4 separate regions of the Homo sapiens genome follow, and all the other regions are linked to region 4. The links are contacts of gene promoters, found by promoter capture Hi-C in human tissues and cell types (Jung and others, 2019). All regions are on one chromosome and are shown on one strand. Each heading gives the region's core, a stretch centred on a gene start or on the middle of the fragment in contact. The rest is flanking DNA. Distances are from core to core; before and after follow the strand shown.

Evidence for each region. The method cuts DNA at HindIII sites, captures the fragments that hold promoters and counts their contacts. A contact is called where the count stands out against the background at its distance.
Region 1: a contact is called between a fragment that was not itself captured here and the fragment with the promoter of SLC35F6 in region 4, in 2 of the 25 tissues and cell types used here (heart right ventricle and mesendoderm cells).
Region 2: a fragment that was not itself captured here is called in contact with the fragment with the promoter of SLC35F6 in region 4 in 3 of the 25 tissues and cell types used here (liver, mesendoderm cells and thymus).
Region 3: a contact is called between a fragment that was not itself captured here and the fragment with the promoter of SLC35F6 in region 4, in 2 of the 25 tissues and cell types used here (liver and neural progenitor cells).

What each region holds. Positions count from the first base shown.
Region 1 is chr2:26,995,932-26,999,048 of GRCh38, reverse strand. The region is part of intron 1 of MAPRE3 (microtubule associated protein RP/EB family member 3); the gene reads right to left. It overlaps MAPRE3-AS1 (MAPRE3 antisense RNA 1), which reads left to right. Exons shown (of 6, transcript NR_149018.1): 2 at 2,129-2,177. Among named protein-coding and RNA genes, the nearest start is that of MAPRE3-AS1, 17 kb to the left of the region's middle. The HindIII fragment of the contact is 9,878 bases long and covers 1-3,117 here.
Region 2 is chr2:26,893,767-26,896,869 of GRCh38, reverse strand. The region is part of intron 1 of DPYSL5 (dihydropyrimidinase like 5); the gene reads right to left. Among named protein-coding and RNA genes, the nearest start is that of DPYSL5, 47 kb to the right of the region's middle. The HindIII fragment of the contact is 5,689 bases long and covers 1-3,103 here.
Region 3 is chr2:26,570,403-26,573,485 of GRCh38, reverse strand. All of the region lies in intron 1 of CIMIP2C (ciliary microtubule inner protein 2C), which reads right to left. Among named protein-coding and RNA genes, the nearest start is that of CIMIP2C, 9.4 kb to the right of the region's middle. The HindIII fragment of the contact is 4,458 bases long and covers 1-3,083 here.
Region 4 is chr2:26,762,612-26,765,539 of GRCh38, reverse strand. SLC35F6 (solute carrier family 35 member F6) reads right to left here and starts at 1,256. Exons shown (of 6, transcript NM_017877.4): 1 at 1,114-1,256. The coding sequence starts at 1,190. RefSeq lists a silencer at 1,080-1,389 and an enhancer at 1,400-1,599. The HindIII fragment of the contact is 8,469 bases long and covers 72-2,928 here.

The DNA.
Region 1 (3,117 bases), core at 15-2,514, 230 kb before region 4:
CCGCCTTGGCTTGTACTGGAATGCTCTCCTCCTTTCAAGGCCAAGCTCATGTCCCACCATTTCTGTGAGCACTAGCTGACAGAATCAGGATTCCAAAGTGCTGTGACAGGCTATAGGAAGAAGCTAAACCACTCCAAATAAACACATACTAGGTTCTGCATTTGTATCTTAAAAAACAAATGGAAGATATTTGGCAGAAGATATAAGGTTTGCAAAACTGTGTGCAAAAGACATAAGGATTTTACACTGGCATGTACTCTCTCCAGTGTCAACTCCCCTGGAAAGTTTTTCCTGACTCCCAGCCTGTTCCTCTGGGCTGGGTTAGCCTAGCCTTCTGGGTACTTCTGTAATACTGTGTGGAGATACTTCTAACACAGAAGTATGTCTATTTCTTCCACGTCACTAGGAGCTTCCCCAGGGCTGGGATTTTTTTCAGCCCTATTGTATGGCATGGTGTCCAGCACATAGAATGTTCTCAGATATTAGCAGAACTGAACTGAGGCTCAGAGAGCTTAGGTAACATGCTCAAGGTAACACAGCCAGTGAGAACAGAACTGATTTGAAACTAGATATCTGGTTATAAAGTCCTTCTTCTAGAATGAGGAAAGTGATAATATTCCTCCCCTCTGGGCTTGTCAGATGACACCTGTAATACTGACTTCAGTTCTGTGCAGCAAACTTTTAGAATAACATTCACAAGCAGGCCTGTTTAAAGAGAAAGACCATGACAGTGAGTGGAGTGGATATGCTCCAATCTCGGTCAGCCAAGGACCTGGTGGAGAAACTAAGGGGTTAGCTTAGAGACAGAAGAAAAACTCAGCATGACATGAGAACTGCCTTTAATGACTTAAGGGCCCAGAGGAAGAATAGGGATTACACTTATTTTCTGTGACCACAGCGTTTGTAAAACTGTGACCAAAGTGTTGAAGATACAGAAAAACAGATGTTGACCCACTGAAGACAAACATTCCCAGTACTGCTTCAGTTAAAGCAGTTAACTGACAGCTTTAACATGGTTAAAGGCAGCATGTCTACCCCAGGAAAGGGTGAGGTCCCACCATGGCAGGTCTTCAAGCTGATGACACCCTGTGGGCATGCCCTATCGGGGTCAAGAACCAGACTGAAGGCTGGACTAGCTGAGATTTTATGTTTAGATGACTTCTTAAGGTCCCTTCTAATAGATGCAACAATTCTATTATTCTGTCTTCGTTGACCTCTCTAGCCTTCAGCAATTCCTTACTCCTCTACATTTAGTGAATATTGAGTTTACATAATTCACTTGAGGATTAAGCATATATGTACCCTGCTACACAACATTTAAGTTACCAAACTATCCTTTCTACCAGGGATTACCAAACTATCCTTTCTACCAGGGATTCCCAACCCCCAGGCTGTGGACTAGTACGGGTCCGTGGAATGTTAGGAACCAGGCTGCACAGCAACAGCGAGCATTCCCGCCTGAGCTCCACCTCCTGTCAGATCAGCGGCGGCACCAGATCCTCACAGAAGCGCAAACCCTATTGTGAACTGTGCATTTGAGGAATCTAGGCTGCGTGTTCTGTATGAGGATCTAACTCAGGGCTGTCCAATCTTTGGGCTTCCCTGGGTCACACGGGAAGAAGAATTGTCTTGGGCCACACATAACATACGCTAACACAAAGGACAGCTCATGAGCTAAAAAAAAAAATCACAAAAAAACTCCATGTTTTAAGAAAGTTTACAAATTTGTGTTGGGCCACATTCAAAGCTGTCCTGGGCTGCATGCGACCCATGGGCTGCGGATTGGACAAGCTTGATCTAAGTAATGCCTGATGATCTGAGGTGGAAATTTCATTCTGAAACCAACCCCCACCCTCTACCCCATCCATGGAAAAACTGTCTTCCACAAAACCTTGGTGCCAAAAAGGTTGGGGACTGCTAATTTCTACTATTGCCATTTAATTTTTTTTTCAAATATCTTCCCAAAAAGATAAGTGCCTTGAAGTCAGGGATCACATATCATGTATTTTACAACTTTGGTCTCCAGATATCTACACTAGTTCAAAATAGAATAAAAATATTTTAAATGCTTACTTCACAACTTGACTTTAATTTCTCTGCTAATGGGCTTGTCTTTTCTCTCTTGAAGATCCCCTGGAAAGTGAGAGCCGTTTCTTCACTAGATACTTTCCCTCCAGGTATTTTTCTGTTCCTCAGGTGAAGGGTTTATTTTTATTTATTTATTTATTTATCTATTTATTTTGGGATGGAGTCTCGCTCTGTCGCCCAGGTTGGAATGCAGAGGTGTGATCTTGGCCCACTGCAAGCTCCGCCTCCCAGGTTCACGCCATTCTCAGGTTCACGCCATTCTCCTGCCTCAGCCTCCCGAGTAGCTGGGACTACAGGCGCCCACCACGGCGCCCGGCTAATTTTTTGTATTTTTAGTAGAGACGGGGTTTCACTGTGGTCTCGATCTCCTGACCTCATGATCTGCCCGCCTCAGCCTCCCAAAGTGATGGGATTACAGGCTTAAACCACCGCGCCCGGCCCTGGTGAAGGGTTTAACAAGGAAACCTTGTATGGTTAGTCTCTGCTAGTTAAGAAAACTCCTGTTGGCTGGGTGTGATGGCTCACACCTGTAATCCCAGCACTTTGGGAGATGAGGCAGGAATATCGCTTGAGCCCAGGAATTCAAGACCAGTGTGGGCAACATAGTGAGGCCTTCATCTCTACTAAAAATAAAAAAGATTAGTGGGGCAAGGTGGTGCACACCTGTATTCCCAGTTATTCGGGAGGCTGAGTGGGGAGGATCAAGCTGGAGCCCGGGAGATCCAGGCTGCAGTGAGCTATGATCTCACCACTGTACTCCAGCCCGGGCAACAGAGTAAGACCTTGTTTCAAAAATAAATAAAATAAAATAAAATAAAATAAAATAAAATAAAATAAAATAAAATTCCTATCTTCTAATGTCTCATCTGTTTCTATGGGTACCCAAGAACAAACCCCAGAAGCAGGAGCTCCTCCTTTTGGACTCACACCAGGTTCCAAGATGGCCAAATAGATTGATGAGGATAACAAGGAATAGAGGCGATAGGCAGATATGAATGGGCCAAGCAAGCTGAAGACATACTTCCCTCT
Region 2 (3,103 bases), core at 592-3,091, 130 kb before region 4:
TTTCTACATAGCGAAGGAAACAATCAACAGAGTGAAGAGAAAACCTACAAAATGGGAGAAAATATTTGCAAACTATACATCTCACAAGAGGTTAATATCCAAAATAAATAAGGAATTGAAAGAGCCCAACAGCAAGAAAACAACTCAATTTAAAAATGTGCACAGAACCTGAATAGACATTTCTCAGAAGACATACAAATGGCCAATAGATTTATCAAAAAGTGCTCAACATCACTAATCATCAGAAAAGTACAAGTTAAAACCACAATGAGATTATCACCACACACCTGTTAGAATGACTATTATCAAAAAGATGAAAGATAAGTGTTGGCAAGGATGTGGAGAAAAGGGAACTCTTGTACACTGTTGGTGGGAATGTAAATTAGTATAGCCATTATGGAAAACAGTATACAGAATCCTTAAAAACTTAAAAATAGAACTACTATATGGTCCAGCAATCCCACTACTGGGTATATATCCAAGGGAAATGAAATCAGATGTCGAAGGGATATCTGCATTTCCTTGTTTGCTGCAGCATTATTCACAATAGCCAATATATGGAATCAACCTAAGTGCCCATCAATGGATGAATGGATGAAAAAGATGTATATACACACAATAGAATACTGCTCAGCCATAAAAAAGGGGGAGGTCCTGTCATGTGTAATAACTTGGATAAATCTGGAGAACATCAGGTTAAGTAAAATAAGCCAAGCACAGAAAGACAAATACCACATGCTCTCACTCCTACGTGGAACCTAAAAAAGTTGATCCATAGAAATAGAGAACAGAGGCTGGGTGCGGTGGCTCATGCTTGTAATCCCAGCACTTTGGGAGGCCGAGGTGGGTGAGTCATGAGGTCAGGAGTTCAAGACCAGCCTGCCCAAGATAGTGAAACCCCGTCTCTACTAAAAATACAAGAACTAGCCGGGCGTGGTGGTGGGTGCTTGTAATCCCAGCTACTCGGGAGGCTGAGGTAGAGAATTGCTTAAACCGGGGAGGCAGAGGTTGCAGTAAGCCGAGATCATGCCACTGCCCTTCAGCCTGGGCGACACAGCGAGACGCCATCTCAAAAAAAAAAAAAAAAAAAAAAAGAAAAAGAAATAGAGAACAGAATGGTGGTTATCAGTGGCTGGAGTAGTTGGGGTAAAGGGGAGTTGGGGAAATGTTGGTGAAAAGATACAAAATTTCAGTTAAATAAGTTTAAGAGCTCTATTGTACAACATGGTGACTATAGTTAATAATAACATTGTATTCTTGAAAAATGCTTTGAGTATGGCTATCAAGTGTTCTAACCTCTCATTATATGAGGTAATTCATCTATTAATTAACTGGATTTAGTCATTCCACAATGCGTATGTGCTTCAAAACATCATGTTGCACACAACAAATACATACAATTTTATCTGTCAATATAAAAAAAGAAAAAACACACATAGGACTTGTATGCTGAAAACTACAAAATGCCAATGAAAGAAATCAAAGACAATCTAAGTAAGTGGAGAGACATACCATGTTCATGGATTGGAAGACTCAACATGGTGTCAATTCTCCCCAAATTGACATACATGTTTAATGCAATTCCTATTAAAATCCCAGCACAAATCTTTTGCATATTATTGTCAAAATGTATGTGGACTGGCAAAGGAACTAGAACAGCTAAAGCAAACTCCACAAAGAAGAATAAAGTCAGAGGAATCAGTCTACTTGATTCCAAGACATATTACATAGCTATAGTAATCAAGACTGCATGATCTTGACAACTATGGTCAACTGATTTTTGACAAAGGTGCAAAAGCAATTCAATGAAGGGAGGACAGTCTTTTCAACAATTGGTGTTGGATATTCATAGGCCAAAAACCCAGCCTTAATTTAAACCTAAAATCTTATATAAAAATGAACTCAAAATGGATTATGCATCAAGTAACCACATATGACACCACTGACTACTCCCTCCTCTGTAGAGCTCCCTTCCCTTAGCATTAAATGGAGCCATGCAGTGAAGTGGGGGCAAGGACCACAGAAGATCTTGACCTCTGCTTTGGAAATCAGTGAGACTTTGATGAACTCTGACTGAAGGCAAGTTTGTGGAGACTGTGTATACAGTCGTCAAGATCTCTGTGAGTAAAGAAAGCCTAGAAACGGCCCAAGGAGCATGGCTGAGGGAAAGTATCAATTTTAGGACTAATATTTTTCAGGGAGTGAAGAAGGAGCCAAGGGAGAGATTAAAGGTCTAAGAGATCAAGGGACTATTTTTGATGTGAGCTCCCGAAGGAGGTAGCATAGAATAATGGCAACCATCATTAACAGAAGGCCTCAACAAACAAGGCCCTCACTTGTCAATTTACATGGCTTGCTTGATTAGATCCCTCCAACAATCCTGTGGGGAAGGTATTATTATGCCCACCTTGCCAAAGAGGAAAGAGATACAGAGAGGTTAAAGTCAAAGGCTTGTAGGAGGAGGTGATGTGCAGATGCAGAAGAGACAGGCATATAAGCGAGTTTGCATTCTCTCTGCTCTGCAAAGCTGGGGGCTGAGAGCTCGTGGGAGTGGTACAGAATGAGTGGATTTGAGAAGAGTGTGAAGATGTGGGGGAGCCACTGCAGGGACCTGAGAAGTGAAATGGGGTGCACATAGGAAATGGGGCCAGTGCTGAGGGCAACTCAGATAGCTGTGGTCATGGTGAGTTGCTTAAAATTTCCATCCAGGGGGCACACTTTGGTTAATATCCAAAATAAGTAAGGAATTATCTATAATAATAAGGATTTATATTTATAATATGAATTATAATTATATAATTATAAGTATATAAAATTGTTATATTTATATTTATAATATAAATTCTAATAAGGATTTATAATAATAATAAGGATATGCAACTCTCTTGACCCTTAGATATCTGAACAGAAAATATTTACATTCAGGCTTAGAAAATATAGGACAAACTCTGACCAGCAGGAAGGAGATTACGCCATTGCAGTGTGTCCTTGAGGTAAAATAAAGCCCACTTTTATACGCAGTAAATTTCTCGTTCTTCAGGGCCCAATTGTCCCCTCTTCTGAAAAGTTTTCTCTGACTCTCTTTGTGCCTTCACTAGATCCA
Region 3 (3,083 bases), core at 498-2,997, 190 kb after region 4:
TTGTCCCATCCGACTCCTCCCTGTCTCTCTCAGCCTCTGCCCTTCTTCCGTCATCTTTAATATCCCCCTCCCTCTCGGCCTCTTCCCCTCTGCCTGTAAGTGGGCATGAGCCGTGGTTCCTAGATTGTACATTTCCACAGTAAAGGCTGGTGCCCGTTTATAGGCAGAGGGGAAGCAGCCAAGAGAGGAGACATTAAAGATGGCGAAGAGGAAGGCGGGATTGCAGATTCCCTCCCTCCTTCTGGAGCTCACTAAGGAATACGCTGCATCTTCTGCCTGATTTCTCAACTCTCACCCTTTCCTTGACCTCCCTCAGTCTGCCTTCAGACCCACCATTGAAACGTGAACCTCTACATCTAAATTAAGGTCATATCAGGTCCTGCTGTTGCCAAATCCAATGTCCTCGGCTCACACTGTCCCGCTGCAACATTCGCACTGATGAAGAAACTTGTTTGGGAAAAAACCTAACCTGTGACGTGTAAGCAAGTTCCTGAGAGCACTTCGTGCTGTAGATGAAGCTTAATCAAGATATAGATTCAATAAATTAAGATGTCAAAGACAAGTGATGGGGAGATGCTGCCTCCTCTATCCTGAGGGCTCCTCCCACGTGGAGGGGAGGTTCCTCCCACACTGGAACCATCGGGCAGCCTGTGGCCCACCTCTCCCCTCCCTCCTTCTCCTCCTCGGAAGCAAGGAAGCCTGCTCCGCCCCTCCAAGCCTTAGGTGTTAGATGGACAGGCTCTGCCCGTGGGGAGGAGGCCGGCCCCAGCGCCTGTCTCATTCTGAGGCTGTGTTCACCCCATTCTCTAACAGCCACATTCCTCTTTCACCTTCTTTCTCAAGTGGTTCAGAATGTAGGGAATGGAAGAGATGCTCATCTCCAGGTGCTGCCAACCCCAGCAAAAAGATGAAGTGATAGAATGAAAGGCAAAGGAAGATACCCACAGCATTCCGCAGGGAAAAGAGCATAACCCAAGAATACCACACCAGCCAGGCGGTCACAGGGGTACAAAGCCACCCTTTCCTAGCATGAAAGGGCTCAGCAACTAAAGCACCCACAAGCTCTTCTTGAAAGTCATGTTCAGCGACAAAATCCTGCCAATCAAGAGATGATTCAAGAGAAAAAAAAAAAAAAACCAACTCAGTAATGTAGAGCCTCTGTTAGAATGAGTGGTGGTGAGCTTCAAATCTATTGAAGTGCAGAACCAGGAATAGCAACTAGGTGAATGCTAGTTACAGAATGGAATGTAAATGTTATAAAACCTGTCAAAGTAAAACTAATTTAAGCAACCAAAATTGGGGGGTGGGTGGAGGGGAGATGGGGGTGCACTTACTAAGAATCTCTTTAAATCAGAGTCAACCCATGGCATCTAAAATTGAAACACATCGTTAGAAAAAAGTACAACATAATGGCTTTAGTCCTTTGATGGTTTTTATCCTCTCTCTCTCTCCTATAGTGGGATCTTTTTGTACTAATATCTCTTGTGATGAATTAACACTTATCTCAAATCTACTTATTCTTCCATTTTACTTCAGTTTCTTTCTCTTCAGTTAAGTTCTATTAAGATTCAATTTCATGCTTTTCATTTTAAAATAGCAAATATGGTATGATTATATTTTTATAAAGTTGCTTTTGTCTGTCTTTATATCCATCCATCCATCCGTCCATTCACTCCTCCATCTAGTCCTTTATCTGAATATACACATAAGGTCTACAGCCATACCACCCTGAGCGCGCCCGATCTCGTCTGAATATACACATAAAGAGAAACTCTGAATAAAATGCACCAAACGTTGACCCTGGATAATTCAGGGTGTTTGGATTTCGGGTGATTTGTGGCTTTCTTCTTTGTACACACATCATTTTTTAAAAACAGAGTCAGATGGCATGAAACATTAATTTATCAGGAACCTGCTGTGTGCTGGCACCATACTAAGTGCTGGGAACACAAAGACCCACGGTGCTCAGCCTGCCTTCCCCAAGCCCAATCCTCACTCGGTGTTTACTGAGTCATGGGGTGCATGTGTCAGGCGCCATGCTGAGCTGGCCTGGGTACAACCAGCTCCAACCCAAGTGGGACCATGGTCAAGGTTCTAGTGCTATCAACCACAAGGAGGGAAGGCCATTCCCAGGGTGGGTACTGGAGGAGCTCCATGACAAGTGTCCACTGGGGTGAGGCTTTGAGGAAAGTCCCAGGGCAGGGGGAGCCCCTGGGTCTGGCTCCTTCCCCAGGCGATGGTGTTGCCCCAGGGTCCTCTTCTCTTTTCAGGGACCCATTCCTTCTGGGAGATCTCATCTGTGTTAGACTTCCAACATGTCCCGTATGTCAATGACAGCCTCTCTACCTCTGGGTCTCCAGCCTCCACCATTCTGGCAATGGATCCACATGCCTGGCAATGGATCCACACAAGGCTGGGCCACCACGCCACAGACTCAGCGCCACTGAAACTGCTCTTCCTCCAGTATATCCCTGCCCCCTCCAACCTCCACCTAAGCCAGAAACTGGGACTTGATGGCTTCTCCATCACCCTCCATCACCCTCCACATCTGACCTCTCCCTAAGTCCTGCTTAGGCCCCTCCTTAGCCACTGGCCTGTGGCCCTCCTCCATCCCACTGCTGCGAGCCTCCCTCATTGCTTGCCTGGACAATCTCCAATCTCCTCCCTGGTCTAAATGGAGCATCACCCCCTCCAGCCTGCTGTCCATACAGCACCAGAGCCATCCCTCCTCTCGCCCATCACTGCACTGTAGGTGCCCTGGGCCCCAGCAGCGTTACTCCCAGTCTCTGGGGCCCCACTTGCTCTTCAGGCCTCTGGGCCTTTGCATGGAATTCCTTTCCCTGGGATGCATTTTCCCTGTTGCCCATCTGGGGATCTGCCACCCACTCCTAAGGATCCAGTGCCCTCTGCTACCTCCCCTGACTGCACACCCTGTACCTAGCACCTGCCTCACTGAGAGGACTATCATCCTCAAGTCCACACTCAGACCCGAATGAACTTGTCTCTTCTTCTGCTAATCCGTGTTCTCCTTTATCCTTGGCACCTGGCACATGACAAGTGCTCAACAAATGTTCACTGGAGGA
Region 4 (2,928 bases), core at 7-2,506:
AGGTACCTTATACATGGGATCGTGCCATTGCACTCCAGCCTGGGCAACAAGAAAAGGAGGGGCAGGAAGGCCCTGCCCTGAGATGGAGACAGAGAGAGACAAAGAAATGCCATCCTGCCCACAACAGAGGGGAGGCTAGGCCCTGTCCCTCAGTCTCATGACTGCCTGGGTCCTTAGTCCCTAACCTCCTGGGAACTGTCCCCCCTCTCACCCCCATACATCAGAGCTGAACTGGCCACTTGCCCTCTCTGTCTGAGTTAATGGCACTTTTCTTCTCCCAGGCAGAAACCCTGGAGTGATCCTTGTTTCTTGCTCATGTGGGTCAGGCCTGTGGCCATTCACACCTGGTCTCTGCCACCAGTTGTCCCTTCCTTTCTCTTCTCACTGCCACCTCCTAGTTCCCCTCATCTGCTATGCAGCAGCCTTGGAGTGGTTTTTCCTGCACCAAACCACTCCTCATGTCATTGAGTCAATCATATCACTTTCAACATGTCATTCCCCAGCTCAAAAGCACTTTTCTGATTATGAGAGAAAATCTAACCTGGGCATTTGATGCTGGTTACAATCGACTTTGATCTGGCCTTTCCGTAGACTTTCCTTGACTTACAGTCTCAGACACATTCCGAAATCCCACCTAAGCTTCAAAGCACAGCTCTAACCCCTCATCCTTGAGGGGCCGTGGGGCACCTCCCTGTCTGCCGCTTGAGGCCTCCACGCTCACTGGGTCACTCGGCCTGCACAGCCACTACTGCGGCTCATGTGCACAAGTCCAGGGGTCTCTCCCAGCTCGTGGAGGGAGGTGCTCAGGCTTGGACGCCAGCACTGGAAGGGCCGTGGAAAGGAATCGGCCAACCCTCCTGTTAAAAGACGTGGAAACAGGAGCGGAGGCTGTACAGCAAATCAAAGCCGGGGCTCGGATCCCCCCGTCCGGGGCGCAGCCCCGCTCCGCATTTCCCCGGGCCTCGCATCCCTTGGGTGGTCATAACGCGCGCGAACTGACCGGAGCAAGTGGGAAAGCAGGGGAAGCCAGGAGGGCAGGGCCAAGAAGGGGGAAGGCGTAGAACGAGCGCCGGGGTCGCCAGGGCCCGCACGCCCGGCAGGGCCCAGACTCACTTTGCCGAGAGCGTGTTGATGGAGCCGGTAACAAGCATGAGCCCGGCCAGGAACAGCTGGTACTTGGTCCAGGCCATGTCGGCGGACGCTGGGGTTCGCTCCAGTTAGCGGCGCCGGGCCCCGTCACCCGGGGTCTCCTGCGCGAGCGCTTCCGGGCCGGGCGTCACGTGACCCCTCCTGCTCGCCCCGCCCCCGGGGAGCGCGCCTGAGCCACGGTGCCCGCGCTCTGCCGAGTCGTCCTGGAGCGCTTTGGTGGCCACGCCGTGGCCCTGGCAAATCACGGCCCAGGCCTTCCAGTTTTTTTTTTCTTTTCTTCCTCACTCTCCCCCGCCTTTTTGGGTTTCTTTTTTCTATTTTTTTGAGAAGGAGTCTCACTCTGTCGCCCAGGCTGGAGTGCAATGGCATGATCTCGGCTCACTGCAATATCCGCCTCCTGGGTTCAAGCGATTCTCCTGCTTCAGCCTCCCGAGTAGCTCGGATTACAGGCGCCCTTCACCACGCCCGGCTAATTTTTTGTATTTTTAGTAGAGACAGGGCTTCACCATGTTGGCCAGGCTGGTCTCGAACTCCCGACCTCAGGTGATCCGCCCTCCTCCGCATCCCAAAGTATTGGGATTACAGGCGTGAACCACCGCGCCTGGCCTTGGTTTCTTATTTTTATCTTTGGGTCTTCCTATTTGTAAAAGGGGCGGATGGGACAGTGCAGTGAGGGTGCATCGTGGCTATTACAGCATTTTGTGAATCGTTTTGAGAGGTTGAGCTGGGCGGTGTCAGAAAGGAGCCCTGAAGTGGGCCTGCCGGGAGTTCCTTGGGGACCCTGTAGAGAGGAGATTCCCACGCTGGACGTTTCCACTTCGGGGCTCCTATCTGATACCGCCCACCTTGGGCACAGTTCATATCTTTCAGCAAAGTGGCGAAGGCATCTAGCTCCAGTTGCCGAGGACACCATTTTATAGCTGAGGACAGTAAATTCAGCGAAGCAGAGTGATTTGCTTAAGAACCTGCTGGTGAGCAGTGGGGTAGGGATTTGCGCTTGGGTTCTCCAGTCTCCAAAAATCCGTGCCTTCCGCATGGCCTCTGCACCAAGCCCTGCTTCACTGCTCCTTTGTGGACTTTCTGGTCGCAGCTGAGGCATCCAGGCAGAAAGACCATCCCTAGGTTTGTTTGAAGAGGGTGTTGACGAAGAGTCACACTCTAAAATATTTGAAGGGATTTATTCTGAGCCAAATATTTGTGACCATGGCCCGTGACACAGCCCTCAGGAGGTCCTGAGAACATGTGCCCAAAGTGGTCGGGGCGCAGCATTTTAGAAAGACACGAGACATCAATCAAATACATTTAAGAAATACATTGGTTTGGTCCAGAAAGGTAGGACAACTCAAAGCCGGGAGGAGGGGAGAGGGTGGGGCAGGAAACGGGAAAAATATCTATCTATGTTAATAGAGATTTTTGTTTTTTTTTGAGACGGAGTCTTGCTCTGTCGCCCAGGCTGGAGTGCAGTGGTGCGATCTCGGCTCACTGCAACCTCCACCTCCCGGATTCAATCAGTTCTCTGCCTCAGCCTCCCAAGTAGCTGGGACTACAGGTGCCTGCCACCACGCCTGGCTAAATTTTGTATTTCTAGTAGAGATGGGGGGGGTCTCACCATGTTGGCCAGGCTGGTCTTGAACTCCTGATCCACCTGCCTCGGCCTCCCAAAGTGCTGGGATTACAGGCGTGATCCGCCACGCCCGGCCGGTAATAGAGATTCTTTACAGATGCAAATTTTCCCCCACAAAAGACAGATTTGCAGGGCCATTTCAAGATATGGCAAAG